Regions from separate parts of the Homo sapiens genome. Here regions 1, 2, 3, 5, 6 and 7 are each linked to region 4. Evidence: promoter capture Hi-C in 16 types of primary human blood cells and fetal thymus (Javierre and others, 2016). All regions are on one chromosome and are shown on one strand. Each heading gives the region's core, a stretch centred on a gene start or on the middle of the fragment in contact. The rest is flanking DNA. Distances are from core to core; before and after follow the strand shown. Region 1 overlaps PLPP3 (phospholipid phosphatase 3). Region 2 overlaps LOC124904185 (a long non-coding RNA gene). Region 3 overlaps LOC124904185 (a long non-coding RNA gene). Region 4 holds the start of USP24 (ubiquitin specific peptidase 24). Region 5 overlaps PLPP3 (phospholipid phosphatase 3). Region 6 has its middle 7.6 kb from the start of PLPP3. Region 7 overlaps NDC1 (NDC1 transmembrane nucleoporin).

Evidence for each region. Contacts are between HindIII fragments. The CHiCAGO score rates a contact against its expected background, and 5 or more counts as called.
Region 1: a contact is called between a fragment that was not itself captured here and the fragment with the promoter of USP24 in region 4, in 3 of 17 cell types (total B cells, M0 macrophages and monocytes). The highest score is 8.3, in total B cells.
Region 2: a fragment that was not itself captured here is called in contact with the fragment with the promoter of USP24 in region 4 in 1 of 17 cell types (M2 macrophages); the score reaches 5.2 in M2 macrophages.
Region 3: a contact is called between a fragment that was not itself captured here and the fragment with the promoter of USP24 in region 4, in 4 of 17 cell types (M2 macrophages, M0 macrophages, M1 macrophages and 1 more). The highest score is 9.2, in M2 macrophages.
Region 5: a contact is called between a fragment that was not itself captured here and the fragment with the promoter of USP24 in region 4, in 2 of 17 cell types (total B cells and M1 macrophages). The highest score is 7.2, in total B cells.
Region 6: a contact is called between a fragment that was not itself captured here and the fragment with the promoter of USP24 in region 4, in 5 of 17 cell types (fetal thymus, total B cells, neutrophils and 2 more). The highest score is 12.6, in fetal thymus.
Region 7: a contact is called between a fragment that was not itself captured here and the fragment with the promoter of USP24 in region 4, in 1 of 17 cell types (non-activated CD4 T cells). The highest score is 6.9, in non-activated CD4 T cells.

What each region holds. Positions count from the first base shown.
Region 1 is chr1:56,525,997-56,529,953 of GRCh38, forward strand. All of the region lies in intron 2 of PLPP3 (phospholipid phosphatase 3), which reads right to left. Among named protein-coding and RNA genes, the nearest start is that of PLPP3, 52 kb to the right of the region's middle. RefSeq lists an enhancer at 1-14. The HindIII fragment of the contact is 6,480 bases long and covers 1-3,957 here.
Region 2 is chr1:56,444,789-56,448,275 of GRCh38, forward strand. All of the region lies in intron 1 of LOC124904185 (a long non-coding RNA gene), which reads right to left. It overlaps LOC124904189 (a long non-coding RNA gene), which reads left to right. Exons shown (of 3, transcript XR_007066110.1): 3 at 832-947. Among named protein-coding and RNA genes, the nearest start is that of LINC01767, 32 kb to the left of the region's middle. The HindIII fragment of the contact is 3,443 bases long and covers 1-3,113 here.
Region 3 is chr1:56,467,437-56,471,154 of GRCh38, forward strand. All of the region lies in intron 1 of LOC124904185 (a long non-coding RNA gene), which reads right to left. Among named protein-coding and RNA genes, the nearest start is that of LINC01767, 54 kb to the left of the region's middle. The HindIII fragment of the contact is 3,446 bases long and covers 162-3,607 here.
Region 4 is chr1:55,212,682-55,216,618 of GRCh38, forward strand. It overlaps USP24 (ubiquitin specific peptidase 24), which reads right to left and starts at 2,683. Exons shown (of 68, transcript NM_015306.3): 1 at 2,109-2,683. The coding sequence starts at 2,432. LOC100507634 (a long non-coding RNA gene) reads left to right here and starts at 2,727. Exons shown (of 1, transcript NR_038320.1): 1 at 2,727-3,937. RefSeq lists an enhancer at 1,571-1,630 and silencers at 2,091-2,280, 2,351-2,860. The HindIII fragment of the contact is 9,819 bases long and covers 850-3,937 here.
Region 5 is chr1:56,569,046-56,572,701 of GRCh38, forward strand. The region is part of intron 1 of PLPP3 (phospholipid phosphatase 3); the gene reads right to left. Among named protein-coding and RNA genes, the nearest start is that of PLPP3, 8.7 kb to the right of the region's middle. The HindIII fragment of the contact is 1,446 bases long and covers 902-2,347 here.
Region 6 is chr1:56,585,457-56,588,876 of GRCh38, forward strand. It overlaps the pseudogene RPL23AP85. Among named protein-coding and RNA genes, the nearest start is that of PLPP3, 7.6 kb to the left of the region's middle. The HindIII fragment of the contact is 1,015 bases long and covers 1,260-2,274 here.
Region 7 is chr1:53,833,377-53,836,877 of GRCh38, forward strand. It overlaps NDC1 (NDC1 transmembrane nucleoporin), which reads right to left. Exons shown (of 18, transcript NM_018087.5): 2 at 2,124-2,244. Among named protein-coding and RNA genes, the nearest start is that of NDC1, 3.2 kb to the right of the region's middle. The HindIII fragment of the contact is 1,168 bases long and covers 759-1,926 here.

The DNA of each region.
Region 1 (3,957 bases), core at 1,129-3,628, 1.3 Mb after region 4:
CACTGCCAACATTGACACAGTGACTCTGTGTTCATAAATGCTTTATATATAAGAGCTACATTTTGTTTTCCCAGAACATATTGAGTACAATTCTGTATTAGAGGAACATAGGCAAAGGCCACTCTAGCCAGCATCTTGGCATAGCCGTTTCCTGAGAGAGCAAAACTAGTATGGGACCCTGCATAGATGCTCAAAGACTATCAGTTGAAGGAACAAATGAAGGAAAGGGAGCAGGACGGTAGTCCTCAGAGTTGCCTTATTACAAAATTGGAAGTATCCCCTCAACATTACCAAGAATGCTTTGATAACACGTTGCAGAGATTAAACTCCAGGAAGCATGGCAAGTCATTAATGAAAGGGACCATTATATTTAGAAGAAACTTAGGTCCAAATTAGCTCCCATCTAAAGATTAAACCCAGGTGCACTGACTCCCTGCCCAGCATTCTTTCCTACCATTCATGATCTAATTCCCCTTTTGAACCTGTTTATACATTTACCCTATGTAACCTCACAGGCAAACAAGTTCCAGATGTTTATTACCACAATCATGTTCTCTTAATCTTTTTTATTCTTCCTTATTTATAAGTCATATGAGATTTTTTATGCAGGAGGAAGAGCACTGAACTAGGAGTCAAGTAGCCGAGGTTCAAGTCCCTACTTGTTTAGTGAATTTGGGATAAATTGGTTTCTGCATTTGCAAAACGAGGGTGCTAGACTCTGATTTATGACTTCATAACTGCAATGACATTTATTCTCAACTTTCCTGGGCTACGTCCACCATCCACCACTAGCCTGCCAACCAAGCACAGGTAATAAGCAATGGCAGAGGAAAGTTACTTGCTCAGAGATGACACCAGAAGCAGGGAGCAGAACCAAGGCCCCAGATAAAATCCCTGACCTCAGATTGCTCTCTGGTTCCCTGAACCAGACACTGCTACAGATTAAGGAACTGTTTCTAAGCAGGTGTGGCCTGAGGATCAGTCAACACGATTTCCTGTTTGATGCTGAGAAAGAACATGTGAGTTTCCAATGCAAATTAGCATCTCTTTTATGAATTTACTGATTAATCTCAGATGAGTCACCTTTCTGCTCCAGTTACTTTAGGGAGACGGGGTTTGATTACAATTCAGGGATTCTTTTCAGCTCTAATGTCCCATCTCTAAAACTTCCATTTTTAGTGTCACAGTCTTAAGATAGTAAATTGCAAAGTAAAATGTTTCCTTCACTCAAGGGAAAACAAGGAGATGAAAAGAACATTTTGCAGTACCTCAAATTCCTAATAATAATGTTAACAGCAGCCATCTCTTACATTTATTTTGTACTGTAGTTTCATTGAATCTTCTCTGTGAAGAAGATATTCCATTCTACAGATGGAGATACTAAGGCTCTGGGAGACAGTGACTTTTCTGAAGGATTTGAGGCCAGTAAGTGACAGAGTTAAGAGTAGAGCCCAGGTATTCTGACTCTTAAGCTCAAAGACCCACAGCAGACTACACTGAGATAATTTTATCATTTCTATTGTTATTAAAACCAATTTCCACTGCAGAAGAGCAATTGCAGATTTTTAAGGAGAGGGCCAGGCTGAAGCCATTTAGCAGACACATGACTCCAGGACCACATGGCTTCTGGGGCAGCCTTGACAGATTTTAGAGTGAATGAGCAACAAATTATGTATTTTCTCTATCCCCTTGTACAGAAGGGTCAGGGAGTCGACAACACAGCCATAAATCATCATTATGAACCAGGCGGACTTGGCTTCTTGTAATCCTAACCCTTAAAAGTCTATTTAATGAAATTTGGGTTGTGAAAGGCAGCCTGAATACCTCACCTCTACAGACGAGGCGAAGGCTTAAATTGTTCTCCGACACGTTACACACCTAACTCTCGAGTCCCAGATTTACTGCTTTCGGACTTTATTCATTACTCACAATGTTTTTATTCCTGGGTAAGAAAATAAGCTCTTCCCTCCCCCTCCTCCTACAAAGACTCTGTCCCCACTCCCAGACTCCTGCCCCTAGAGCCCTCATTTCTGCCTCAGTCAGCAAGGTTCTGATATGTAAATTTCACTGCTGAGAAAAATGCCTTCAATGTTGATCCCTTTCTGAAACAGCAAGCAACAGATTCTGGGGGTGATGGCAGGCTGCCAGGCAAGCAGAGAATTCTCCCCTACCTGCCTTTTAAAGCACTTGGCACAGAATCTGGAAACTAATAAAATGGGAAAGCATTGCAATTAAGCTACAAGGGGACAGAAAGGGATCAGTCCTTGCCTGAGAAGGGCTGCAGTTTGGAGAGAGGTTGGCTCCAACTGCAAGACAGCTCCTCTTCCTGTCTTTTCTGGTGAAAAAGAGCTCAACTGCCCACATATTTACAAATATTTAACTGTTATGGAGAGGAAATATGAAGAAAAATTAGGATAGATTTTTGGGAAAAGATAGAGCAAGAGGTGGTGAAAGAAGCAACAACGTTGTAGCCAGAAAAACCTGTCTGAATCTTGTCTATTACCTTAGGCATGTGACTTTACCTCTCTGGGCTTAGATGTCCTCATCTATAAAATAAGGTTAATAATATCTATGTGGCAGGATTGCCAGGGAATTAGATAAGGTGATATGTCAATCGCCTGGCACCTAGCAGGAGAGCCCTCCAAAAGTTAACTTTTTTCTTCCCTCCATTGAAGAGGAAAGCAAACAAACAAATAAAAAACATGTTTTGTAGAGAGTATCTCTTCCAAGAGCTCCTTGGACGATACCATACCTAAATGAAGAGTTTGGAAATACCACCCCTCCAGGGTAGGACCAGAAAATGTATGTATGGATGACATTGCTTTTGATCATTTTATCTAGTATGTATTTTTCAGCAGATCAAGACAGAAGCAAAGTCTAAACCCAAAGCAGAAGGGACAACCCTACTCTACTGTTTTGTGTTATTTTTAACATTCCACTCTATTTGTAAATTATCCCAAGAAAAGTAATATTTTTGCACAGCAGCCTAACAATCTCTTTCAGAGACTGAGAACTCATCTTCCACCGCTGAGTCTGAAGGACAAACTTTCCTATACTCTGATCTGCTTTAATAATATTGGCTTAGTACTTTACAGCTTTCAAAGCACTTTCACATCCACTATACTGTTTGCTTCTCACAACACCATATGAATTACTAAATTATTACCAACACTTATATAAATGAGTATGATGAAGGCCAGAGAGGGCAGTGAATCACTCTGATAAAAATGAGACAGCAAGAAGACCATCACTGAAGCTGGGGCTTCCTCCTTCTAATTCCTGTGCTGTTCCCAATGGCATCGAGCTGGCTTTCTCTTAGAAGTCCTACTAGGCAGTAGTATGTATGTCTCCAGAGAGACATATGTTCACAGAACACCCAGTAAGGGCCTGCCATCTTGAAAGGCACCTGCACCTCTAAGTTCCTGCTAGCCACAGAGGGTCAAGTTGTTCTTTTACATCTCGGTTACATGAATTGATGAACTTCTTTTGCCCAGAAAAGATTAATTCAACAAACTGTTGATGATGGAGAATCGTGAAGGGAGAATCACATTTCTCACTTTAGTTCTCAGTCCCAAAGGAAAGGAAAAATATAATGTACTGGGTCCTGTTTCTAAGGATGGAGACAGATGTATGGCTGTATTTTCTCTGGCACTGACTGCTCCATCTACTGCAATAAAGTGCAGCGTCTTTAGTAACTAGAAATAGTTGATTGGAAATTTATTCTCTGATTCTTCTGTCACTTGGTTATCATCTTCAGCCTTTTTCAGAAGATCAGTGCCTCACTGTCTGGGAAAGGTAATGAAGACATAGATCTGTCCAAAGACACCAGTATAATTTCTGGGCTTTATGGGTAAGTCAGAACTCCAATATCTAGAATAAAGACAGCAAAGAGGCCAGAGAGGGGCTACAGAAGTTATTTATGGTTGAAATTAGCAGTGGCTGCCCTGTGCCCACAAG
Region 2 (3,487 bases), core at 142-2,641, 1.2 Mb after region 4:
TTGCTCACCACTGCATCCTCAGTGTACTTGATTTATACTTATTGAATAAATAGAAGAATTAATAGGACTGTTTTACCTGGAAGATATGTGTACAGTATAAATTGCAACAGGAAGGAGCATTTGAAAGAAGTCAGGTAGGTACACATTGGGGAAACTCAGACCCCGCTGGCCAGGATTTGTGAAGTCCATACAGCGATAAGGAGACTAAGGTAAGGTTAGTTACAGGCTCCCACGAGAGCAAAGCTCCACCTGAGTTCCACCTCCACCTCTGCCCCAACTCACATTGCATAACCTTGGGAGGTGCCATCACCTTCCTGGCTCATGTCTTCCTCACCTGAGATGTGCAGAGCTTGGATCAGGCTCACAACTTGCTTCCAGATCTGATATTTACATTTCCCTATTGGCTAATACCTCTTGGCTAATACCTCTTCCTCCAACTTTTAAGGACATTTTGAAATAGTTGAAACTGTTCTAAATATTAGAATATTGAAGACAGCTACTGAGGGTATAACACATATTGACCAACCTCTACCTCAGAATGATCCAAAGACTAAGGTAATTCAAAGGGGAAGAGAAGTCCCAGATATTAGAGTTAGGTGGCTTAAATGCCATCAGAGGGACTTCCAAGTGCCCTCTTGTGAGTGCATGCGTGAACTCTCTCCCTTTCTCTCTCAGTCACACACACACACACACACACGCGCACACACACACACACACGCTAATCTTGCTACACTCATCTGAACCAAAAAAAGAAAACAAACAAACAGACCTAGACAGTGAGTTGCGAGAGGGATTTGCAATTTACTATTCTATCTATTCCCTTCTTTTCAGGTCTTTATTCATTCAAAGCCTTGATCAACTGAGCACTAAGCATCACCTCATCAAAATCACCTGGAGTGCAGTTGGAGGCTGCAGTGAGCTATGACTACACTACTGTGCTTCAGCCTGGGTGATAGAGCGAGACCCTGTCTCAAAAAAAAAAAAAAAATCACCTGGAGGAGTAATAACAAGTTTGTTAAAATGCAGATTTTAGGCTCCCCCAAAGATCTTCTAAATCAGATTTTTTACCCATACCTCACTACCCCCACTTCTTTTTTTTTTTTTTTTTTTTTTTTTTTTTTTTGAGACAGAGTCTCACTCTTGTTACCCAAGCTGGAGTGCAGTGGCGCAATCTCTGCTCACTGCCACCTCCGCCTCCCAGGTTCAAGCAGTTCTCCTGCCTCAGCCTCCTGAGTGGCTGGGATTACAGGCACCTGCCACCACGCCTGGCTAATTTTTGTATTTTTAGTAGAGACAGGGTTTTGCCATGTTGGCCAGGCTTGTCTCAAACTCCTGACCTCAGGTGATCCACCTGCCTCGGCCTCCCAAAGTGCTGGGATTACAGGCGTGAGCCACCACACCCGGCCTCAGCCCCCATTTCTTAAGCCTACTAAAGTTTTAGATTATGTAAAATGCTTAGCACAGTTAAGAGACTGTTCACATATGCCAGGCACCTTATCTAGTAGCTGGAAGCATACGAAATTGCCAATTGCCAATAGTCTATCATTTTTGACCTTTAAAAATGGCAATTTCATATGGCTCAACCGAATGCATTGGCTAGATCTCATCCCAACCTTCCAAGCAGACATAGTTATTCCTAGTTTACAGTAAAGACCATGAAACTCCAAGGGGTTAAACATCTTGCTGAAGGGCACAGCTCTAATGAAAGGCACAGGTGGGATTCCAGTGCAAGTCTCTTCTGCCTGCAGCCTTGGTTCCTCCTTCTGTTCTCCAGCAATCCACCACTGCTCCTCAGGACGACTGCAAACACCAGACGGAAGTGCATCATTTTGGCCACAGTGTCCCAGGTCGAAACACCACCTCTGACTCCAAACAGAGCCATGAGTTTGTCCCTTGAGGCTCGGGCTATGTGCACAAGTTTTCAGAATGCCTTGTTTCTTGTCAAAAACTAAACTGATGTTTTTCCTGGCATGGCTTTTGGAAGGGAGCATGATTGCTGATTAAATATGAAGTGGTTTGAAACCTAAGTGTCTCTCTGAATAACGTAATGTTTACTCCCCACAAGGAAGGCATGCCAAGGGGCTGTCTCATAGGGGTTATTTATGTGTCCAAGTCTCCAACAACCCCTCTGGAAACTGTTGCAGTGATCCTTTTGGGTTTGACACCCCCTGAGGGATCTGTGTCCTGAAGTGGCCTGAGGGCTGGAAGGGAGTGTTCTGTCCCCAGCACCACCAGCTCTGCTGATGAGCCCTGAGCTGGGTACACTGTACCTGCCCAGAGAGGCTAGAGACTTGCAGACACATTTCCCTGTTCCCTTACTCAGAGTAGGGAACCCTAGCCTGTGAGGCTGCAGAAGGAATCCCGGAGGATAGTGGAAGGAAGGAGAGCAGCGTTGTCTAGGAGGGCTCTTATGTCATCTCTGATTCCTCAAAGACCCTCAACGTGGTTGTTCTTGTTGCCATTTCACAAATGAGAAAACCAAGACCCATAAAAGTTAATTCTTTTCTCAAGTTCACACAGGATTTGAACCCAGGCCAGTCTGATTCCAAAGCCCCTCTTTATTTCAGGAAGGAAGGAGAGGCAGGAGGAAAGGGGAACTTATTTTATGCCAAGTATATGCTAGGGGCTTCTCTTTCCATTATCTTTTCTATGCTTTCTGCTACTCCTGGGAGGAAGGTATCATTACGCTTATTTCACAGGTAAGAAAACTGAGGTCCAGGGTATTGGAGTTTTTGCCCAGGATCACTCAGGTAATAAATAGCAAAACCAGGCTATAGCCCAGGCTGGTTTACATTTCCTACTCCTTCACGCTGACTCTTTAGTGATGAGTCCCACAGTCTGGGTCTCTTCCCAACCATGACACTTGACCTCAGTTTCCCATTCTGTATCATGAAAAGGACGTAAGCATCTCCCAGGTTTATAAACCTGATATAGCATAGGCCCATTAGTACAGTCTCCCCATGTTGGAGAGACAACATGGCTCCTAACTGAATTATAAAATAGTGTTCAAGTTGCTGGCCCTTGAATTGTCTTTCAGAGAAAACATATCTCAGAAGATATAAAAAGAATTAGCCTCATTCCCCAAGGAAAGATTGAGAGAGGGACTGGCAAGAAGCTTCCAGAATTCCTTGGAAAGTCCCTGAAATAGCTCATATGGCCACCTCTCTCAAGCAGAGCAGGATAAGTGTGGCAATTTGGGGCTGTCCTGAAGTGATTCTCGGCTTGCTTAGAAGCTGAGCAATATTTTCTACCCACCTGCCTGTAGCAAGCCTACTCCCAGGTCATCACCCCCAATTTCGTCATCCTTTTCCATGCTCCCATATCAGCAAGAGTTGGGGCTTCATGAACCCCTTGAAAACATTCAGCTCTGGGGCCATGAGTCATAGTAGAGGCTACACTAGACTAACCCCCAGAAAGAAAAGGACTAATAAAATGAAACTCCCAAAAAGAAAGGACAGTCACTAATTGGTCATCGTCCTCGTATATG
Region 3 (3,718 bases), core at 635-3,134, 1.3 Mb after region 4:
GGCTTACAAAATGCGGTAGGCCCTCATTGGGAAAAAGATTAAAAATTAGGTATAAGGTGAATTTAGAAAGGTCCCATGCAAGTGAAGCGCCCTGGAGTTCAAGCCTCGGAGCTTCATACTTTATCTGTCTCTGGGCTCAGTAAAGATGTGTCACAATAAAAAGCTTCAACAGCCTCAATATGTACTAGAAAGACTGGATTTAAATCCAATCTCTCATCTCCCTTTGGGCAGGTGAGTTCATTATCTGCACATTGGTATTTCTGCATATGTAAAAATGAATTTATAATACCTGCCGTGTTAAGGTTGTTTTGCACTGAAGATGTATTTAGGTAACCTGAAAATATACCAAATATTTGTTTACTTGCTTATTGTCTGTGTTCCCCACCACAGTCTAAACCCCATGAAGAAAGAGACTTTGCCTTCGTCATTGCTGAACGCCTCTTGTCTAGAATAATGTCTAGAAATTGTTGGGTGTTCAATGAATGTTTATTGATTGAAACAATATAGTACCTCCTCATATCTGAAACAATGGTGCCTGGTATCCATTGATAGGTTAAGTTCTCCCAATTTTAACTCTTACTATTATTAATAAATTTTAGTTAAATGAGTAATAAGGAGAAAGAAAATACAAATATCAGAAGAGATAAAAACCACTCATAGACTCTGGAGAGCAAAGTAAATCAAATTTCATATGATCCGAAATGTTTTCAGACCTAGAATTTTTTTTAAAAATCTTTAAAAAAAAAAGATCGGAGGCTGAGGCAGGCAGATCACGAGGTCAGGAGATCGAGGCCACCTTGGCTAACATGGTGAAACCCCGTCTCTACTAAAAATACAAAAAATTAGCCGGGCGTGGTGGCGGGCGCCTGTTGTCCCAGCTACTCAGGAGGGTGAGGCAGGAGAATGGCATGAACCCAGGGGGTGGAGCTTGCAGTGAGCTGAGATCGCGCCACTGCACTCCAGCCTGGGCGACAGAGAGAGACTCCATCTCAAAAAAAAAAAAAAAGAAAGAAAGAAAAGCAAACAAAGGAACAATGCACACGTATCCACACAAGGAACACCGAAAATCCTTCAGGCAGTAAGTTGAGTAAAAGATAGGAAAGCCCCAGAAATTTGACATGGCTTCACTGGTGACCAAGACAGCATATTTATTCATTGTTCAGCAGCTCCCTTCTTATTCTCCAAGGAGTGGAAAGCGTTGCTGAGTTCTGGACGAAAGCCTCTCCCGTCAGCTGTTTAAGAGCATTGCTGTCATTAGACAACCTCAAATCATGTCAAGCCCCAGTCTCTGCCAGCACCGAGCTGAAAAGCCAATCCTCCAACTTAGCTCTGAACTCTTCACCCCAATCAATTAAGAGCGATCCCATCAAAAACCCCAAATAAGTTTGCTTGGCCTGACCTTGACGATTCTAGTTAAAGAGACATCGCTCCTCCTGGAAGAATCTATCATTTTTAAATGGCTCACATGATGGCTGAGGAATTCAGGGAGAGTTAGACTGAATCCCAGCACCCGAGAGCTGAGAGAGACCTCGGCACTCAGAGTCCATTTTTCACTACAGAAGAGGAAACTGAGGCTCAGAGACAGCGACTACCTTTCTTGAGGTCATATAACTTGGCGATTATTGTTGTGAAAATGTATTCCTTACACCAGTCAGAATGGCTATGATTAAAAAGTCAAAAAACAACAGATGTTGGTGTGGATGTGGAAAAAAGGGAATGTTTATACACTGTTGGTGGGGAAGAAATTAGTAAACTAGTACAACATCTAGGAAAAACAGTATGGAGATTTCTCAAAGAACTAAAAATAAAATTATCATTTGACCCAACAACCCCACTACTGGGTATCTACCCAGTACTTGTACCTGTATTTGTATGTCTATTGCAGCACTATTCTCAACAGCAAAGTCATGGAATCAACCTAAGTGTCCATCAGCAGCTGAACTGATAAAGAAAATATGGCTGGGTGCGGTGGCTCACACCTATAATCCCAGCACTTTGAGAGGTTGATGTGGGTGGATCACTTGAGGCCAGGAGTTTGAGACCAGCCTGGCCAACATGGTGAAATCCCATCTCTACTAAAAATACAAAAATTAACCAGGCCTGGTAGTGCACACCTGTAATCCCAGCTAGTCGGGAGGCTGAGGCAGGAGAATCACTTGAACTCAGGTGGTGGAGGGCTGCAGTGAGCTAGCTGAGTTCACACCACTGCACTCTACCCTGGGTGACAGAGCAAGGCTCTGTCTCAAAAATAGATGTATATGGTACATATACGCCATGGAATACTACACCACCAATTAAAAAGAATGAAATCATGTCTTTTGCAGCAACATGGATGGAGCTAGAGGCAATTATCTTAAAAGAAATAACTCAGAAACAGAAAACCAAATACTGCATGTTCTCACTTACAAGTGGGAGCTAAAGAATCAGTACACATGAACATCTAGAGAGTAATAACAGAACTAAGGGCTCCAAAAGGGGGAAGCGTCAGAGGAAGAGAGGGTTGAAAAATTACCTGTTGGGTACAATGTTCACTGTTTGGGTGACAGGCACCCTAAAAGTCCAAACCCTACCACTACACAATATATCCATATAACAAACCTGCACATGTACCCCTGAATCTATAAAATAAAACTTTTTTTTTAAAAAAGGATTATTTAGCTTTCTATTCAGTTCATTAATCATCACACTTGACCGTGCCAGTGACTGACTCATGATTCAAGAAGAGCTTGCTTCCACTTCCCAGAACTTGTTCCAGTTTCTCATTCTGCTTCCTATGCACTGTGTGAACTTGGACAAGTGACTTCACCTCCTGAACCTCAATTTTCATCCTTCAAAAGATGCGATAATAACATTTATTTCACACGTGTGTTATCAAGAGGAAATGAAAAAGCATTTAATTAAAACTGTTACTTTTAGTGCTTAATAATTGTTAGTTTCCCACCTTTTTCCTTTCTTCCTTCCTCTCTCTTTCTATTCCTTCTTTTCTTTTCCCTTGCTTCCATGCTTTCTTTCTTCCTCTGTTCTTAACAAGTACTGTAATGAATACAAAGAAGTTTAACAGAGGATCCTTGCTCAAAGGAAGTTAATCTCCAGGTGGCTTCAGTTTCCTCATCTATAAAATGTGAAGGTGGGAATGGATAACTTCTCCAGATATGTCCTCCCCTCACCAATTTATCTGCAGTAACACGTGTACATACGTAGTCAGCACAGATTACCAAGCACCTCTTTTCAGCCAGATCCTGAGCTAAGCTACACGGATAGATAGATTTACACTCCCTGTCCTCCACAAGCTCACAGAAAAATTGTAGCTGAAGACAAGGGGGAAGAACCTACAGTAGGCATGCAATTTATATAACTATTTTAAAGAGTTCAGATGTCAAGTAGAGAAAGGGGAAAATAGCCACGTCAGAGTCTACTGATGAGACAATCAGAGAGGGAAACACACAAAGTACTGTAGCTCTTGTCTGATTAAAAAGTACACACAAGTGTTAAAAGGAAGTAAAAGTTCACCACTCAGGGCAAATTATTTACAGGCACCAAATATTCTGAAGGAAATCTAAGGCATACCAACTACTAAATGTATTCAGTCTTCTAGGTTCTATGGTTAAGCTTGGTAGGAAAAAAAAATACAAAACCATACAATACTGGAAAGAGAGAAAGAGAAAGAAAGAAAGAAAGAAAGAAAGAAAGAAAGAAAGAAAGAAAGAAAGAAAGAAAG
Region 4 (3,937 bases), core at 1,433-3,932:
GCTCCTGTGTGTCAGGAAAGTCTCAGCCTGCCAACCTCTGCCAATACGCTTCGTGGGTAAAGCAGCCTCAGTCACCAGCTCCTCTTGAACTCTTAAAAGTAAACGGTGCAGCTTCCCTCCCCCAGGCCAAATCCACAGGTCTAGGAGAAATGAGGACTTGATGCACTGCTTCGAAAAGATGGAGATTTTATGGATTTTAATTTACCGCAAACCAAACTCCTTAGCCTGCCATTCACGTAAGAAGCCACTCCCAATTCTTTGTACTTACATGTACTGGCAGTAAGCTAAGGTTAGCGCTAATGTTAACATGAATGCACCAAGCATTGTAATTTAAATTGATTTTCCAATCACAGGAAATTAAAAGGTATGACAAAAGAAAAAAAGAATCACATTTCTCACATAATGAGGATACACTGAGCTTTGCAGAGTTATACAAACACCTTCTGAAAAAGCAACGGCTTTCTTCTTGATTTCAAAACTGGGTCAAAAACTAGAAGGAACGAGGGAGGAGTGATAGGAACTGCCAATGAGAAGCTGATTTCTTAAAATGACTTAAGTATGGTTACTCAATTATATGGGAATTTAAAAAAATTCCCAAACTAGGAATAGTAACAATCTTTATTTCCATATACTAGTCAACGATACAGCTAAGTTAGTGGGTTACAGAGGGCAATCTAGCAACTGTGTCTAAGTGTGGAAGCCAAAGAAATCTTGTGCAGAAACCTGTTCTTTTTAAGTGCCACCTTCTTGTTCAAGCTACTTCAGCCCGAGGAACTGTTGCAAAAGCATACAATTAAAAGGATATAACACTGCTCAGGAAAAAGTGTTTCAAAAGGCTTAGCTTCACTAAGCTTAATTCTTCATTAAGAACGAACCAAATTCGTATCTCTACCTAATAACGCAATCCCAATAATTTGAGATCTGTGCTTTTCTGTGGTCAGGCCAAGCTGCTCTACTGGCCCCTGAAATGAACTACCCAACGAATCTGACCAAAATTCCTGCCATGAGCTACTATGTTTCTGCAAAGTAATTATTCAAAAGCACTGCTGCTTCTGGTCGATCTTTTTTCTTTATTATAGAAGAGTCCGTTTTCTTCCCCCACGTTCCTTGCTCACACCCCAAACTAAACAGGCATAGTCTTCTCCACCTAGACTTGAGGTCTCTGATCAAAGCCATTAGCCTCAAGACTCCTCCTCCACCCCCACTGCGCTCCCACCCTGTTCCGCGCCCCTCTGCATAGCACCCTCAGTATGACTACCATCTCTTTCCCCGGTCTAATTTTCTCTCATTTCTGACCTTATCGATGACCAGTACTCCCTCTTTACCCAGACCTGGTGCCAGCTCTATCTTCCAATTCCAGTCCCCATCCCTGCCTAGACCCTCCTCAGCTCCCACCCCTGCCCAGGCCTCCCACCTCTGCCCTCTCAGTGCAATCCCCACTGCTCTCATACCTGATTTTATTCAAGTCCTCATTCCTGGCCGCGGCCCCTTCCCTCTTCATTTTAAATCCTACTCAATGCCCCCCCTTTCCGACCCTTGGCTAAAACCCCAACCTCACTCCTAACCCCAACAGTTTTCCTGTGATCCTGTCAAAGACCACTACTCTGGCCGGCCCACACCGCTTTTTCTGACTCTGAGCCTGGTGCCTCCGCCAATCCTTCACTGAAACCTCGTGCCACAAAATCTCCGACCTAGCCTAGTGCACTAGTACCCCATTTCCGACCCCCTACTGCACGCATCCTTCCCACTATATGCTCAAGTGTCTGTCCTCCCATCTCGGATGATAGCCCTGGAGCCTCCTCCCCATCGTCGGCGTGCATAGCCGGAAGCCTAAGGGACCCCTCCTCACCCCAACCCACAGCTCCGCTGCGCATCCCTAATTCCCTTTCACACGCCTCTCCTATGGGTCCCTCTCCCCACTTACCCCCAATCAAGTGACTTCGGTTCCCAACTGGAGCCTGGGGCTTCTCTCTCTCTCTCCGCCCCGCCCCCACTAAAGCCCCAGTCGAATGCCCTCTCTCCCCACACCAAGCCCAGCGGGGTGTGTCCCCTCCCAGGAACTCCAGCCCAGTGGCTTCCCACAGAGGTCTGGGGTTGCCCCTCCTCACCTCCGCGTCCACCACCTCGTGGTAGGCGGGCGGGGGGTCGAAGCCGCCCCCGCCTCCGGTGCTCCCGCCGCGGGAGGGGCCGCCGCCGCCGCCGTCACCTCCGCCGTCGCCCCGCGGGCCCCCGCCGGGCCCGGGGCTGGGGCCACCGCCGCTGTCCATGGGCTCGTAGCCGCCGTAGTCGAGGCCCGGCCGCTCGTTGGTGAGCAGTGCCACGGCCTCGTTAATGTCGTTCTTGGCCAGGCGCAGGGCCTTGCGGATGGTGGCGGGGTCTGAGAAGCCCATGCACAGCAGCGTGGTCATGTGCTGCTCCTCCTCCGATTCCATGGCTTGGGCCTCCTGGCCGCCCCGGCCAGCGCACGGCGAAGCTACGGGTCCCGGGCCTGGCGGGCCGCGCGGCGCACCCTCCGCGCCGCCTCCGCGCCCAGGTTGGCCCCTGCGTTCCTGCCCCGGGTGCTCCGCAGCAGCCGGGCCAGGCTGGGTGCGGGCTTGGGTCCTGCGAGCCGAGCTAGTGCGGTGAGGCGCTCAGGCGCGGCTGCGGCCCGGCCCAGCCCTGCGCGCCGCCATGTTGGCCTCCTCCCCCTCCGCCTCCTCCTCCCCGGGCGGCGGGGCCGCGCCTCGGCTCCCGGAAGCGGCACGGGAGGCGACCGTGCTCGCCGTTGGCAGGCTAGGGTTGGCGGCGGCGTATTCTGTTTGTTTTAAACGAAGGAGCGGAGGGAGGGGCCGCGCCGCGGAGCGTGCCTAAGGTGAAAGGGCTGCCGTGCAGCCAGGCAGAGGCGAGGAAGGCTTCTCCATCGTCGCCACCGCCCGCCTGTTTCGCCGGCAACAGGTTCCCCCGGGACGGGAGGGGCCGCAGCGCCGCGCAGCTCGCAGCGCTGAACGTCGCGGAAATCCCTTGGCCGGCCGAGCCTCCGCAGCCGCGACCCGGCTTCTCTCCGTCCGAGTCCCCCGAGCCTCTCCGAACCCCCGTTGGACTTCCCCTCCCTGGCCGGCGCCGCCCGACCCGCTCCCCCATCCTAGAGGGAATTCCCTGCGCCGCGGCTGTGAGGCACCTCCACCCCGGCCTGAAATGCACCGCAGTCCTGAAGGAAATCCACCCTCATCCCACGCAGATTCACCCGCAACGCTGCCTGAATACGCCTCGCTGCCCACAGAAATTCCTGCCCAAACCAGACGCGTGGACCACCCAAGACGAAATTCACACTCGACCCTAGCCCCGCCAGCCCTTGCCGAAATCACCCTAAACCCGTTGAAATTAATTCCCAGCTGTCCGAATTTTCCTTCCAACATTAACTGACTACCTGTCTCCGCCAAGCTGACTGAACTCTACCGAACTCTTACCCTGAAAGCCCCTGAGAGTCCAAAATATATTTTTCCAGCCCGAAATCTAAATCCCAGTTCTCTGTATGAAAACCTCCAGAAACCCAGACTCTTACTTCCTTCGGCCACGGACTCGTTCGAACATCGTGGACATCACCTTCCCACATTTTTACCGCAGTCTTTGGCTCCGATTCTTTGTCCCTGCCTCTTGGGCAGCATCCTATCCCTGTTTCTTTCCACCTTTGAGGATTCCTCTACCTCTTTAAAGGCCTGCTTTCTTTGCTTTCTCTTCTCACCTTTGGCATTGGCACACTGGGGTCATATCTTTAGTTCCCTTGACTCCACCATCTAAGCCAAGGGTGTCCAATCTTTTGGCTTCCCTGGGCTACATTGGAAGGAGAAAAATTGTCTTGGACCACATATAAAATATTCTAACGCTAATGGTAGCTGATGAAACTTTTAAAAAATCTCATCATGTTTTAAGAAGTTTACGAATTTGTGCTGAGCCGCAT
Region 5 (3,656 bases), core at 375-2,874, 1.4 Mb after region 4:
GTCATCTCTCCCAAACCCAAATAAGATTAAATTAATTCCCTCCTCCAATCTTTTCATGAATATGTTCATTCCAAAGGTCTTTTATAAAACTATTGTATTTTTCTTACATACTGTAACTAGCCTTTAGTTTTTTGTTTTTGTTTTTTTGAGATGTAGTCTCACACTGTCACCCGGGCTGGAGTGCAATGGCTCTCTCAGCTCACTGCAACCTCTGCCTCCCAGGTTCAAGTGATTCTCCTGCCTCAGCCTCCTGATTAGCTGGGATTACAGGCGCCTGCCACCACACCTGGCTAATTTTTTGTATTTTTGTTAGAGACGGGGTTTCACTATGTTGGCCAGGCTGGTCTCAAACTCCTGACCTCGTGATCTGCCTGCCTCATCCTCCCAAAGTGCTGGGATTACAGGTGTGAGCCACTGCACCCAGCCGCCTTTAGATATTTCTAAAATGGTGCAGCCACTATGAAAAACAGTTTGGCAGTTCCTCAAAAAGGTAAATGTGGAGTTACCATAGGACCCAGCAATTTCACTCCTAGGTAGTAGGTTTCTCTATGAAATCTTCCAAGATAAAAATAAAAAGAAAAACAAAAAGAAAACTTCATTTGCTCTCCTCGTTCACCAAAATAAAACTCAAATTCCTTAGCTGCCTGCCATACCCAGTCCCCTTTCATAATCTAGCTCTAACCTATCTCTCCAGCCTCATCTCCAATGTCCTCCTTTCTTCCCCCGCACAGTGCAAACACACAATATTGACATTCCAGCCTCCAGCTACTCACTCTTCCCAAATAGGTCCCTGCTTCCAAGTCTCAGCACCTGTGCTTCACTCTGCTGCAATACCTTCTCCCCCTTCCTGGCTTGTGAGCTATTATTTATCTTGCAAGACCCAGCTCCACACCCTCAGGCAAGCTTCATCACTCTTCACTGTGCTGCTAGAGTAGGCCCTCCCTTAAGGCTCCAAAGTCATCACTTATATAGTGTTTGTCATTAGGCAAAAGCCTGTTCCACTTTCACCAGCCTGGGAATTCCTTAAGGCCATGGAAACCCTGGGGCCTGGCATATAGTAGGTGCTCAAGAATCATCTGCAGAAGACAAGGCTTATACCTGAAAGACAGGTACAAACATAGGCTTAATAGGCTCTCTAGAAATTATACTGATTGATACCACAAACTAATTTGGGGGCCAGATATAAAGAAACCATCAATGAGAATGGTTTCCTTCGTGTCAATGTAATAGTGTATTATGTGTTTTAGGGATACATAAACAGGAACCAAAGCACACTACTTATTATGACAAGGCGCTTATAATGATTTGCATTTCTCTGCAAAACTCTTTAGGCATATAATTTTGTTAATTTGTGACAAACCTCAAAAACACACTTACCACCAATACCTTGATTGCAATATATACTTTCAAATCACACAGAAATCAAGTTCCTTTCAAAGGTTTCCAAAAGAGTCTGAAGTGCGTTGTTTTGTTTGGTTTGTTTTAAATTTGGGAATTTAAATGCAGATCATAATTTATAATTTAACCCAGACTTAAGGGAAGAATAATTTCACAAGGATGTTCAAGAACCTGACCTAGCCTTCTTTTGAATGTTGGCACTGACAATGCGTGACCTTGAGAAGTCTGTTTAATCTGAGACTGTTTCATCCTCAGTCACATGGGAATAAGGAGAGTTTGTTGAGAGGCTTTTAAAAAGCAAAAATAAATAAATAAATAATAAAAAGCAAAAACTTTGAAAACATGGAGTCTCTTTTTTCTCCCCTGAGATACATCATTTGAAAAAGGTGGCACCTGTTCCAGCTCAAATCATTCAGCAGTGATCTTGGTAATAAGTACTTTCCTGAAAAAATACCAGTTTGAAGAAAAGTAATATTTCAAAACACTGCCTAGTCCTTCACATTTGTCCCATGTATCTTTGGCTTCACTCAGCTAACATCCACTGATATGGATTAAAAGTTAAACCTGTTTGTCTTGTTCCTTTTTCTACTGACGCACGCAAGAGAGAAAGCTCTCCAGGGAACTCTCCTCATGAATAATATCAAATTTCAAACCAACAAGTCCACATCCGAAAAGCAGAATGGTAGAAAGGCAAGACCTTGGTTCTAGGTCCTCCTCTTTCACTGTCACTGGACAATTACTAACCAACCAAGACCTCTAGTTCCCATTTGTGAACCAAGGGCATTGACTAGGATGTGGTGATGATAATGACTGCAGCAACTACCTCTTGAGTGTCTCTATGCACCAGGCACTGTACTAGGCATGTCCCCACCACGTCACAGTGCACACAGAATCTCATTTCGTAAATGAGGATTTATGAGGCATCACAGAGATCAAGTAAACTTGCTTAAGCTTCTATGGCCAATAATAGTGAGCAGACTCCAGTCTGACTCCAAAGCCCGTGCTATTCCCCTCACACCTCTCTCCCTTCCCCAGCTCAAAAAGGCCTATTTTTCTAACTGACATTAAAAAATGACCTTGGTATCGTTGATAATGAAATCTCCAAGGTACTTCCAAATTCTAAAGATTCCATGAATCTAGGCAATGAGGAATTGCTCCAATGGTATTCTCTTTATTATGTCTACAGAGAAGCTTATTCATCAAGCTTTAAGCTGTTTTGCAATTATTTACATATTACTCTGTCTACTCCACTGCCCAATAATATCCTTAAGACCAAAATAAACAAAATGGAAAGAAATGAAAAAGACTGCTTTGATTGCATTAATTGCAATCAATTAATTGCAAATTGAAAAGTGGGGCAGCAAGGTAACCTGACAAGAGCTCTGGAAAAGTTGGTGACTGCTTTCTAGCTGGGTGCCCTTGTGCAAGTTACTTAACATCTCTGAGCTACAGTTCCCTCTTCTATAAAAGGGATCGTCTCTATACCACATGATTGGCCTGTATAATAAATATGGTAGCCTAGCTCAGTACCTTCCTTCCTCAGCAAATACAGAGGGTCCCCTAGATGACCAGCGTTTCGATCATTTCCAATCATTTCTGGTTTTTTTTTTTTTTTTTTTTTTTTGAGACAGAGTCTCGCTCTATCACCCAGCCTGGAGTGCAGTGGCGTGATCTTGGCTCACTGCAGCCTCTGCCAACTGGGTTCCAGCAATTCTCCTGCCTCAGCCTCCGGAGTAGCTGGGATTACAGGCACACACCACGATGCCCGGCTAATTTTTGTATTTTTAGTAGAGACGGGGTTTCACCATGTTGACCAGGCTAGTCTCGAAATTCTGACCTCAGGTGATCCACCTGCCTCAGCCTCCCAAAGTGCTAGGATTACAGGCGTGAGCCACCACGCCTGGCCTTGCTGTTCTTTTAGTTTGGTTTTCCTCTGGGCTGTTGAATGACAGGAATGACCCAAGTGAGAGTTGACCCTAAAACAGACCACGTGTCTAAATTCTCTCCCACCCTTCCTAAGGCATATCTGTCTTTCTCTCAAGATAATATGGCTTTGTCCCTTTCAAAGGGGAAGAATGCAACCACCAAAGCCTATTGAGGTTCCTGCACTTTGACTTTCCCAGAAAGGGTCAGGAAACCTGCCACTGCTTTTCTTCAGCTAATGGAAAACATTTGTGTCCACTCTGCTTGGTGTTTTCTTGGGATTCTTCTCAGAATCTTTTTCCTTAATATAGTTCAGGCAACTTTGCTGCCAAGAA
Region 6 (3,420 bases), core at 517-3,016, 1.4 Mb after region 4:
GGGCACAGGAAAGTTAAGTAACTTTAACTGCCAGGTGATAGAGCCTGGATTTGAACCCAGGCAGTCTGAGATAGGAGCCATCAAGTCTTTATTACTATTACTTTTAAATGATTATTTTTCTGGTGAATATTTAGAATTAGCCAGCTGGACTCAGCTTAGATGATCCCAGTTTTGTTGGCCACATCCGAAACGTAAATCAGGAGGCAATTGAACATATGTGTTCTCTCCACCAGGCCTGATCAGGGTGTTGACCTTGGCCACATCAGGGTCATAGAGCTCCTTCATAGCCTGTTTGATCTGGTGCTTGTTTGTTGGCCTTGATATCCACAATGAACCCAAGTGTATAATTGTTTCCTTTTTCGTTTTTGCACATTACTTCCTTTATAGTTTATCATGAAGACTTTCAAATATACAGAAAAGTTGAAAATAATTTACCATGAGCATTTATATGCCCACTCCCTAGAATCCACCATTAATACTTTATTCTACTTGTTTTATCACATATCTATCATTCTGTTATCCATCAATCCATCTCGATTGTCATGTTGTTTTCTATCTTCTTCATAGCAGACTCAGTGGTCAGTGGAACTGATGAGGCAGAGTGAGTAAGCTTGTTTCTCCTGGGGGTGCTCATCCAAGGATATTTGGGCTGCTTCCACAACCACAGTGCCTTGGGCCACCAGAAAGAGGGTGCCATATGGATCTTTTTTTTTTTGTGGCCAAAGCCTTTGTTTTGGCATCAGCTTCGGTGGGGGCAGGAGCTTCCTTCTTCATCTTCAGCGCCATCTTGTGAAAAGGCTAAGATGTTAATAATTAATCTGTAATGAATAAACTTTGTCTGTGTAAGGCAGCAGCCCCCAACCTTTTTGGCATCAGGGACTGGTTTTTTGGAAGGTAATTTTTCCGTGGACCGGGGAGGGGAGTGGGGGGATGGTTTCAGGATAATTCAAGCACATTACATTTATTGTGCACTTTATTTCTATTATTATTACATTGTAATATATAATGAAATAATTATACAGCTCACCATAATGTAGAATCAGTGGGACCCCTGAGTTTGTTTTCCTGTGACTAGATGGTCCCATTTGGGAGTGATGGGAGACAGTGACAGATCATCAGGCATTAGATTCTCCTCCTTGCAAGCGCAGTTCACAGTAGGGTTTGTGCTCTTATGAGGATCTGATGCCATCGATGATCTGACAGGAGGCAGAGCTCAGGCAGTAATGCGAGCTATGGGGAGCAGCTGTAAATACAGATGAAGCTTTGTTCGCTGGCTGGTGGCTCACCTCCTGCTATGCAGCCCAGTTCCTAACAGGCCACGCACCACTACTGATCTGTGGCCTGGGGGTTGGGGAAGCCTAGTCTAAGGCACACAGGAGAAAGATTAGTGGTTTCTGAAGTGGTACTTTAATTGTGTGCATCTGGGAGAAAAGAGCAGAAGGTTGTTTGTGTGCATGATGTGCACATATATATATAAACATTTATGCATTTATTCACCGAATTCAAATATATGTATATATATACACTCACTGTATACATATGTGTATATTTATTCAATATATATGTGTATTTACTTGCTCATTTAATCATTCATCAAATTTCATGATCACCTTTTCTATGCTAGGATTTATGCTAGGTGCTGGAGATAATCAAATTAATGCTTATGGCTTCTTTCTTCAAATGACTAATTTTTAGAAAAACATGTGAACAGGGCCAGGTGTGGTGGCTCACACCTGTAATCCCAGCACTTTGGGAGGCCAAAGCGGGTGGGCGAATCATGACGTCAGGAGTTTGAGACCAGCATGGCCAACATGGTGAAACCCTGTCTCTACTAAAAATACAAAAAATTAGTTGGGTGTGGTGGCAGGCGCCTGTAATCCCAGCTACTTGGGAGGCTGAGGCAGGAGAATCACTTGAACCCAGGAGGCAGAGGTTGCAGTGAGCCGAGATCACGCCACTGCACTCCAGCCCAGGGATAGTGCAAGACTCTGTCTCAAAAAAAAAAAGAAAAACATGTGAACCAATACTTGCAATATTATCATATTTCATTGTAAAGTTTAAATTGTTTTCTTCAAAAAACTATAATTTTCTTCATGAAATTTGATGAAATCATGAAATTTGATGAATGATTAAATGAGCAAGTAAATACACATATCTTCAGACACAAACCATACCATGTTCCTAACATGGTACATAATAATAAGGCTTCAAAAAGTAGTTGTTGAAAGAATGACTAGAGGAAAGTTACAAGCACAAGGTAAGGGTATCAGGGAAAGCTTCAACGAACAGATAAGTCATAGTTGCATAATAAAATTGAAAAAGATGTATAATAACTTAAGTACATAGAAGCACATGTGTGAAACCTGTATTTTACATCATTCATAACACCTAATCCCAGATGGATCATAGACATAAACATGAATAATAAAATGAAACTTCTAGAATAAGATGAAGGATAATATATTCATGATTTTGGGATAGGCAAACATTTCTTAAATAGTAATAAAAAAGCATTGATGACAAAAGAAGAAACGGATAAACTGAAATTCATTAAAATTCATAATTTGTATTTATAAAATACACCAGAGCTGCCAAACTATGGACTGTGTATTAGTCTGTTCTCCCGCTGCTATAAGGATATACCCAAGACTGAGTAATTTATAAAGGAAAGAGGTTTAATTGACTCACAGTTCCACAGGGCTGGGGAGGCCTCAGGAAACTTCTAATCATGGCTTAAGGGGAAGCAAACACGTCCTTCTTCACATGGTGGCAGCAAGGAGAAGTGCAGAGCAAGTGGAGGGGGTGGTGAAGCTCCTTATAAAACTATCAGATCTTGTGAGAACTAACTCACTATCACGAGAACAGGATGGAGGAAACCGCTTCCACGATTCAGTTATCTCCACCTGGTACCTCCCATGACACATGGGGGTTATGGGAATTACAATTCAAAATAAGATTTAGGTGGGGACATAGCCCAACCATATCAGACTATAAACTTAATCCAGCCTGTCAAGTGTTTTTGTACAATATGTGAGCTAAGAATAATTATTAAATTTTTACATGGCCGAAAAACAATCAAAAGAAGAATGATAAAGTTTTTGCTTATTCAGTAAACGTATTGTGTGTAGCTGCTTTTGCACTAAATGGCATAGCTGACTAGTTGCAAAAGAGACCACATGACCTGCAAAACCTAAAATATTTATTATTTGGCTCTTTACAAAAAAAGTTTGACCCCTAAAACATAAAATTAAGAAAATGAAAAGGTAAGCCGCAGATTGGAACAATACATGGCCAAAAAGGATATTCACTAAAAGGATGTATATTCAGAGTATGTAAAAGAACTCCTACAAACCGATAAGAAAAAGACAGACAAGCAAAGATGTGGTCTTTTTTTTTTTTTAAAAAAAAGGGGGGGGCAAA
Region 7 (3,501 bases), core at 93-2,592, 1.4 Mb before region 4:
TCACCCACCTCGGCCTCCCAAAATGCTGGGATTACAGGTATGAGCCATCACACCCAGCCACGCATATGCAAATATTTAATCATGTGAAAGAGAAGTATCATCTTTAGTAATATACCAACAAAGTTTTTTCTTAAAATATAAAGAATACTTTTCAGATCTCTTCTTCATAAATGCAATTACCTCATATAGCTAAAGTAACATTTTTGGAAATAGAATAAGCCATACATTACATCATCTAAACGAGCGGAACTCAAAAACAAAAAAATCAGGATGCCCCCATGAAATACTAATACATTCACATTTTAGAGTAGTTCAACAATCGATATTCCATCTCAAAGTTTAAAATATATATATATAATGCCTAAAAATATGAATGAAATAAAAATAAGAGCATGTTTGCTAAGACTTAAAAATTAACCACTTATTTTTAAAAGTACAATTCATTGACCTAAATTTTTTTTTTTTTTGAGATGGAGTCTCACTCTGTCACCCAGGCTGGAGTGAAGTGGCGTGATCTCAGCTCACTGCAGCCTCCACCCCCCACTCCCCCTTTAAGCAATTCTCCTGCCTCAGCCTCCCGAGTAGCTGGGACTACAGGTGCATGCCACCACACCCAGGCTGGTCATAAACTCCTGAGCTCAGGCAATCCGCCCGCCTCAGCCTCCCAAAGTGCTGGGATTACAGGGGTGAGCCACCACACTCGGCCCATTGACCTAAATTAATGAGGAATATTTACTAAGCATCTACAATTAAACCCAAGCTTCTGATGAGGAAAATGGCATAAATCAAATCCAACCTGCAGAGAAAGTGTGATGAGGATTAAAAAACCTCTGGCCATGAAATGGCAAAAAGTTTTTGTCCCCAGTGCCAATTGTGAACAATTGGTAATGGCTCTCAAATACAAGATTGAGTACTCTAAGGTTGCCACCAGAGAGCCATGATCAGTGAGTGAAGCAGACACAGGTAAGGTGGCTATAGAAATATTTGCTATGCCTGTGCTGGCTTATGGCTTAATTTCACCTGACCAGTGGGACCTATCGAAAAAGTGATGGACGTACGTCAACAAGAAACTTAACACCAATATCTCCAAAGGTCATGGGTAAAGAGTCCAACTCCTTGAAAACTGGCATTTTCTTGTGAAAAACGAAATTAAAAACTCAACTTCCCACTTTACAAGGCAAAAGAAAGACCAATTTTCAATCCTAAATCAGTTACTCACTAGCTGGGTGTCTCTGCATGGATTATTTAACCTGAATCTCAGTTATCCCATTTATAAAGTAGAAAGTACCTCTTAACTACACAGAGTTACAGGAAGGATAAGAAGTAATATATGTAAGGAGCTGGCACACGGTAAACAGGCAATAATGGGTAGTTATTAACAGAAAACAAGTTAATTTTAATACATTTAGTAATTTTACTTAGTCTCTAAGGAATTTAAGGAACATTTTAGGCCAGGTGCGGTGGCTCACACCTGTAATCCCAGCACTTCGGGAGGCTGAGGCAGGTGGATTGCTTGAAGTCAGGAGCTCAAGACCAGCCTGGGTAACGTGGCAAAACCCCGTATCTACTAAAAATACAAAAATCAGCCGGGCGTGGTGGCGCGTGCTGAGGCACAAGAATTGCTTGAAGATGGGAAGCAGAGGTTGCAGTGAGCCAAGACTGAGCCACTGCACTCAGCCTGGGTGACAGAGCAAGACTCTGTTTCAAAAAAAGAAATCAAGTGCTCTTAATTTTAGACGTATTTTTAAAAGAGGTACATGTCATATTTTCTACCCACAATTTCGAATCGATGACAGGAACCATTCTGTATTTTAAAGAGACAAACAATCTCAATAAAGCTGCCCAAAGGAAAAACAAATGAAACTAAGTTTTCATTTATGGGGTCTTCTAATGATCTTTTCGTTCCTATGATCACAGTCTTTGACAAGCTTATTAATCTTATTACATAATAAAAAGGTGATTTATGTTACGAAGGAGACATCTTAAAATTATCTCAAAGTGAATGTTTTGATGTGTCAATATAACATAGGCAGTAATTGAAAATAAACTGCTTGAAACATAATGCAATTTTTATGTTGAGAAGTAGGTCCTATAACTTTCTCCCCAAGTTGAGTATCACCTACCAGACAGCCACTGTATAGGATGAAACAAATCAATCCTGCTGAAAATTATAAATACTGTGGTGCAGATGGGTAGAAATAGCACTGACCAAACAATACTTGCAACTATCCTCCAGCCCAAAACCTATAAACAAAAAGAAAAACCCTCACTCATGAAGTCAGTTAAATTATTTCAGTTATGCAAATCCTATCTTTTCATACAGGATGTTAACCACTAACTCAGATCATAATCCGTAACTCAAACATTCACTACTAGTAATAACATTACGTACCACTAAAGAATTTATAGTATCAGTGAGCTGATGCCTGCATTAGTACAAAGTTAGGTGCAACATCAAATATCATACTTTGTATGAGGGGTGGTGGGCATTGATTTACAGCTGTTTTAGAGCAACTAATACTTGTCTCTCTAGGCTTAATTGATAGCTATATTAATATATAAAGGCTGTACACATTTTATGGGAACCACCTGTATACTGTAACTGTATTTATAATCATCAGATATGAACCTTTACTGGGCAACTACGGCACTGTAGCATTCTATTCATGTTTGAATTGCCCGTATCTATCATATAGGAGGAAAATATTTACTGCTGAATAATACAAGAAGATATAGAGGGGTTTTAAGCATGAAAGTGACAATCAAATTCATGTTGCTCAAGGTAAAACATGTCTGTTTACTGAAAGCTGGCTTTAAGGAAGATGGAGGAGTTGGGACACGAACCAAACCAGAGACAATGCAGTTAGGAGGCAGTCCACCAAAAAGCTGAGGCCGGGCGTGGTGGCTCACATCTGTATCCCAGCACTTTGGGAGGCCAGGGTGGGCGGATCACTTGAGGCCAGGAGTTTGAGACCAGCCTGGCCAACATGGTAAAACCCTGTCTCTATAAAAAATTTTTTAAAAATTAGCCAGGCATCATTCCAGCCCGGGCAACAGAGCAAGACTCTGTCTAACAAAAAAAAAAAAAAAAAAGAATAAAGTTGAACTCCTATCCCACATTCTTTTTGATGTTGTGATTTTGAGACAGCTCGCTCTGTCCCCCAGGCTAGATGCAACAGTGCCATCTCAGCTCACTGCAACCTCCTCCTCCCGGGTTCAAGTGATTCTCCTGCCTCAGCCACCTGAGTAGCTGGGGTTACAGGTGCCCGCCACCACACCTGACTAATTTTTTTTTCAGTAGAGATGGGGTCTCGAACTCCTGACCCCAAGTGATCCTCCCACCTCAGCCTCCCAAAGTGTTAAGATTACAGGCGTGAGCCACAGCGCCCAGCCTCCTATCCCACATTCTATACAAAAATTAACTCAAAATGGATTAAAGACCTACATGTAAGAGCTAAAACTATAAAACTCTTGGAAGAAAACATAGGAGTAAACCTTCAT